2 separate regions of the Homo sapiens genome follow, and region 1 is linked to region 2. Evidence: promoter capture Hi-C in human tissues and cell types (Jung and others, 2019). All regions are on one chromosome and are shown on one strand. Each heading gives the region's core, a stretch centred on a gene start or on the middle of the fragment in contact. The rest is flanking DNA. Distances are from core to core; before and after follow the strand shown.

Region 1 (3,014 bases), core at 68-2,567, 1.1 Mb after region 2:
TTTTCTTAATAGTAGTGATAGTTTTATTGGTGTATACATATATAAAAACCTTATCAGGTTGTATACTTCATAGATATGTGGTTTATTGTACTTTAGTTGTATCTCAATGAAGCTGGAAATAAAGTATTTTAAATTTTTTAAAGGTACTATTGAATTTGAAATCCATTTGTGTTTTGAAAAATTTCAACATTACTTTTATCAATAAAAAATGGAGAGTTTTATATTCTTTAAGTGTAATCCCAATTGTAAAATGTTTAATGCTTTAATAAATGATTTTACATTATTTATCACCTCCTGGCCTGAACCGTATGGCTTATCAATCACGGTCTTTTACAATTTTAAGAAAGCAAAATGAAAGTCCTGATTAGGAATTGTATGTAGTCACTTCAGATATAACATCCATTATTTAAAAAGAGAAAGCTGTGATCATGAATGAAAACTGACGGAAAGCTTTAATTTAAAAAATTGCATATAAATTTAGTGTGTAATACCTTCCTAATTATGTGTATGTTACTTTATTAAAATTATTTAATATAAATAAACCATGGCTTTTTTTTTTTTTTTTTACCAAGCCCCAGGTAACCTCTATCCAGCTTACTGTACAAAAATTGTCATTGCACTCTGATACAGTTTGGCTATGTCCCACCCAAATCTCATCTTGAATTGTAGCTCCCATAATCCCCACATGTCATGGGAGAGACCACATGGGAGTTAATTTAATCATGGGGGCGGGTTTTCCTCATGCTATTCTAATGATAGTGAATACAGCTCATGAGATCTGATGGTTTTATAAAGGGTAGTTCCCCTGCACACACTCTCTTGCCTGCCACCATGTAAGACGTGCCTTTGCTCCTCCTTTGCCTTCTGTCATGATTGTGAGGCCTCCCCAGCCATGTGGAACTGTGAGTCCATTAAACCTCTTTTTCTTCATACATTACCCAGTCTCAGTTATTTCTTCATAGCAGTATAAAAATGGACTAATATGAAATGAGCTAATTGTTTTTGGAAAGGTTAATCTTAATGAACTAACAGTGATTTAATAGTTGCAAATGCTAACTTTAAAAAAATAAAATACTGAAATTAGAGGTGTATTGAGTGATACATTTCCATTCCCATTATTAATTTAAAATATCCACAGAAAATGTAACTTAGATTTTGAACTCTGTATTGCATACTTAATTATCAAGAGTTTAAAACTGGGGTAAAATAAAGTGGAACAAAGAAACGTAAAAGAAGGAAAGCACAGGAATAGCTGAGCAACCAGCTCAAGAAGCCACAGCTACTCTGACTCATTCATATACTGGCTCAATATTGAACACATGAGTGTGTACAGAAGATTTTAAAATGTCCCACTGATATTTTCACATATACTTCAAACAGTAATTCACATATAAATTGCCATATATTGTTCATATATTTTAGTCATTAAATCTATTTTACATCTTATCTAAGTCATAATGATTATAGTGAATGTAGGCACAGATGCACATATATTTAGTCATATATACAAGACCGTTTCTCCTTTACAATGGAATTTTAAAATGTTTCAATTCGATAATGATACTATATCCCAAGCACTAAACACCAAGGAGACAAATATGGTATGACATAACTGACCCATAGGCCATCATCAGTTCATTAAAAGACACAATATGTAGGGCCTAAGCTAAGACAGGGAGGGTAAGGGTAGAAAAGAGCAGAGAGAAAGAAGCAAGACTTAAGCGTAGAATTAATAGATCTTGACAACCAAAAGGATGTTCATGGGGGTTATGAGATTGAGGAAGAGAAAGAGAAGATTCAATAACTGTTTGCATCAATTAAAAATAGTGTTTTTTCATAAAGATAGAGATTAAGAGGAAAAAAACAATTTGTGAGAACATATTTAGTTTGGTTATGGGCATGTGAAGTTCTTGGTGTAAGCATTTAATTCCAATCTGTATCTTACGAGGAGAGAGGCCAAGCAGGAAGTATGTTGATTTGGAATTTATTTATATATGTGTTAAATGTGGAAAGTAAAAAGTGAATGGTGTTGCTCATAGTATGAAATTCAGAAGAAAAAAGAAGCAAAGACTGAATTTCTAGAGAAAATCAGTTTTTTGAAAATAGAGAAATAAATGAAAGTCTGATAGAGAACAACCAGAGAAGGCAGAATCAGAGGGAGATAAAGTCCTGAAACATGAGTATGGTTGTTTCAAGTAGAAAGAGTAGGCTTAATTACCAAAAATGTCCAAGACAAGAGAAGAGGCTCCTGAATTAAACTAGTAAGAGGTGACTTATTAAACCTGCATAAGCCATAATTCAAGATAGATAGGATTTGGAGGCAGATCACCACTGGCTATAAAATCAAACTAGAAAGCCTTTGCCAGGATCTGTAGTAGACTTAAAAATTGTTTAATTTGCATCTTACCTCCCTTCTGAGTTTTGGGGGAGTCTCCATTATGTGTAGTGTTGGCAAGAGAAATTGCCCCACTTTTGTTACAGAGGCAACCAGAGTACAGGACATGTGATGAAGTCTTAGCTAATCATATACTCCCACCTAAGACTTTATATCTGGAGAGAATAAGCCAAAGACAAAGTGAAAGTTGTAATTCATTTGTAATAGTCCCACAACAGTGGAGACATCATCCTAGCTAGCCATGTTTCTCCTGGTGAAGATGGTTGCTGTATTTCTTATATCTCAATCTGAAACTGTCTTCTTAACGTATGCCTATTTTCAAACCTGTAGTCCAAGGTGCTGTTACGTCTACAAGCCCTGGAGAGTCTTTTAATAAGTCTAATTAGTTTTCATGTGCTAGGTGCAGTTAGAGTTTGCTGTATACAAACAGTAACCCTCACTAAAACAGCCTCAAAAAGTTTACACGAGAATATTTAGCTGTGTCTTTTCAAAATAAGTTTTTATTCTAGTTCCATATATTTGGTTTGCCTTTTAAACATCATGCTAGTCTTAGTCTTCTGAGATCCTCTCTATGTCTATAAAAAGTGCTTAGGGTATTCACAGAACTGAGCAGTGCTTT
Region 2 (2,700 bases), core at 140-2,639:
TCTAGGAAAAGAGGCGTGGTGGGTGCCCAGTGTTTGCGAAGCAGCCACCCATGGCCGACCTCTCGGGTCCACCCAATCGTGGCTATCTGCCTGGGTCCGGGCAGCGCCGGGCGGCCCCTCGCGGGTGGTCGAGGCGCCACGCACAAGAACAATCCCGACCGAAAGGCACGAACCGCCTCTTTTTGACCATCTGGAAAGGTTCTTAAAGGACCCACCGAGTGTTCCCACCCCACAGATACCATTTAAAAATCAAATGGATGTGTAATTCCACAGACAGCTACGAATAAAGATTTAGGACAGTGGGAAAGCCTCATCAAAAGGTACCGAAGCCCTCTGTCTGGCCCCAGCCAGCCACCTTTCCAAGAACCCAGGGCACGCCGCCGCGGCATACAATAAGACAGCCTTTCCCTCCTCGCCTTTCTCCACCACCATCCCCATTGCGCCCCCCTTTCCCGACTCCCCCCCCCGCCACACACAATCACACCACCAGTTCAGAAATCTCGAAGACAATCCAGCTTCGACAACAAACCCGAGAGACACCCAAACACCATTGTGCCCCCAAACACAAATGAAACCTGGCTGGGGGCGGGGGAAGGAGGGCACCTAGCTAGTCACGTTCTGCCAATCTCCAAACCACGCCATTTTAGACGATTTATCACTCCTTTCCTCCCGTCTACTCAAGAATTCTCCAGGATTCTAAGGAACCACTCCTTTGGTGTGGGGGGACCCCGGCTATGAAAAATCCACAATTTAGGCTATCCATTTCCATTCAACTTTCAGACTAGAATCCAGCCACACTCCTCTCCACGAATGAGCCTTGGGAGCCACCAGGAGGGAAGGAGAGAAAGACACGAAATAAATGACCACAACCACAGGTAGAATTTACCTGTCCGTTCGCTTTGGAAGGCGACGAGGCCACAGCCGCCTCCCCAGGCCTCTCCGCGGCGGCTTCTCCCTTCGCTGCGGTCTTGGAGAACTGGGCACCCATGCTGGCTTCTTCAACAAAGAAACTCAACAGATCCAAGAGGGGAAACAAAGAGCCTCGGGTTGGTGTAACGACGGGGCGAGCAGCAGCAGCAGCGGCGGCGGCAACAGCGGCAGCGGCACACACACCGGAGGGAGGGGGGTGGGGGTGGTGGAGAGGACAGAACAGAACCGATTAAATACACTCCGGATAAAAAAATTTTAGTCGAAGAGATCAAAAAGCAGCAGCACAGGAGGGAGGGAAAAAGGGTGGAAAAGTCGAGCACAAAAAAAGGAGCCCAAGTGTAGTTCGAAAAAAAAAGAAGTAATAAAAAAATCCCAGATTTGTAGCCGCACTGTAGACAAGAGGAAAATGGAGAAATCTCCCTGGTTGCTAATAAGATGCGGGGTCCAACGCCCAAGTGCACAGATGAATGGGCTCGCGGGCGCTGACGCGGCCCCCGCGCGCGTCGGCCAATCCGCGCGCCGCACACAAAGCAGGGGGCGGGGTCTGCGCGCCTGGCGAACAATGGAGCCGCGCTTTGCAAACGGTTTGAAAATCAGCCTCAGACCGAGAATTAATGTCCTCCAAATAAATAAATCAATTAAAAAATACATGGCACTCGTCTCTCTCTGCTTGAAAATAATAATGCATTTCTTGATTGGCTTGCTTTGTTTGGAATTAATTAACACGGGAGGGGGGTACTTGTGCATCGGGGCGGAGAAAGCGTTAACTTGACTCGCATTGACTCTCGTCGGTCTATATCCGTGTGTCTCTCTCTCTCCACTCGCTCCCCTCCCCCATCTTTCCGTGTGTTTATGTGTATGTGTGTGTATGCGAGTGTTAAAGACAATGGTTGCGATTTGTGTGTTTGCAGCATGTTTTCTTTCTTTTTTCCATATTGGTTTTACAGATAATGCTCAGGGTTTGTTTTTTGAACTGCTGCAATGGTTAAATCGTCCCAAATTGAAAGGTATTTAAACCACGAAGATCGAATTTCATCAAGCGAGATCGCAAGTTAGAATTAGGTCTGTAGGCCAGATGTGGAAAATGCAAAAGCGGCAAACAGCGAAGCCACACTCCCTTCCCTCTCCCACATTGGCATGAAATAAAATATTTTGAGATTGGCCTTGGGCGCTCAACAAATTCCCCCTTCTCTGGCTATTCCCAATTAGTGATTTTTTTCCCCCACAATTCAAAGTGAGAGCCATTTACAGAAGATCGAAACTCTTCGCGTTTTATCACTGTTTTAAATGACATAATTTTCCTCTATGGTGAAATGAGACACAGCCTCGAGTAGACGAATCCATATTTACAGTTGGGATGTTATTCGCGTCAATATGGATCGTTTTCAGCCTACTGCCAGAATCGAATGGACTCTTTTTGAACGTGTGTGTGAGTGCGCACGCAGGCGAATGTGCTCCTGAAAGGAAGGGAGGCAGCAGCAACGATGACATTCTAAACCGGATTGCAGTTCTAAGGAGAAATGTTCTGTATGTTGAGAGATAGCAAGATCCCTGAGCTCTCCAAGTCTAACTTGGGTTAGAGGAAAACCTTCTATAATGGTACACAGGATACCTCCATCTGTCACTGCACTCCTTGCCACCGAAGTACCAGACGCTTTTTGTGCGTGAGAGACAAGGCACTGACTTAAAGTATGAGGGGTGAGGGGAACCAAGGAAACAGCTTAATAAGCATTTTCTTCCCAAAGTTTTCACTCGTGGCAAAATCAGACC

What was found. The method cuts DNA at HindIII sites, captures the fragments that hold promoters and counts their contacts. A contact is called where the count stands out against the background at its distance.
Region 1: a contact is called between a fragment that was not itself captured here and the fragment with the promoter of MARCKS in region 2, in 1 of the 25 tissues and cell types used here (bladder).

What each region holds. Positions count from the first base shown.
Region 1 is chr6:112,732,168-112,735,181 of GRCh38, reverse strand. The region is part of intron 2 of LOC105377949 (a long non-coding RNA gene); the gene reads right to left. All of the region lies in intron 2 of LOC107986634 (a long non-coding RNA gene), which reads left to right. Among named protein-coding and RNA genes, the nearest start is that of RFPL4B, 390 kb to the right of the region's middle. The HindIII fragment of the contact is 7,131 bases long and covers 1-3,014 here.
Region 2 is chr6:113,856,034-113,858,733 of GRCh38, reverse strand. MARCKS (myristoylated alanine rich protein kinase C substrate) reads right to left here and starts at 1,389. Exons shown (of 2, transcript NM_002356.7): 1 at 887-1,389. The coding sequence starts at 988. RefSeq lists enhancers at 1,308-1,357, 1,145-1,688, 1,689-2,234, 2,505-2,554, 2,575-2,634. The HindIII fragment of the contact is 5,128 bases long and covers 1-2,700 here.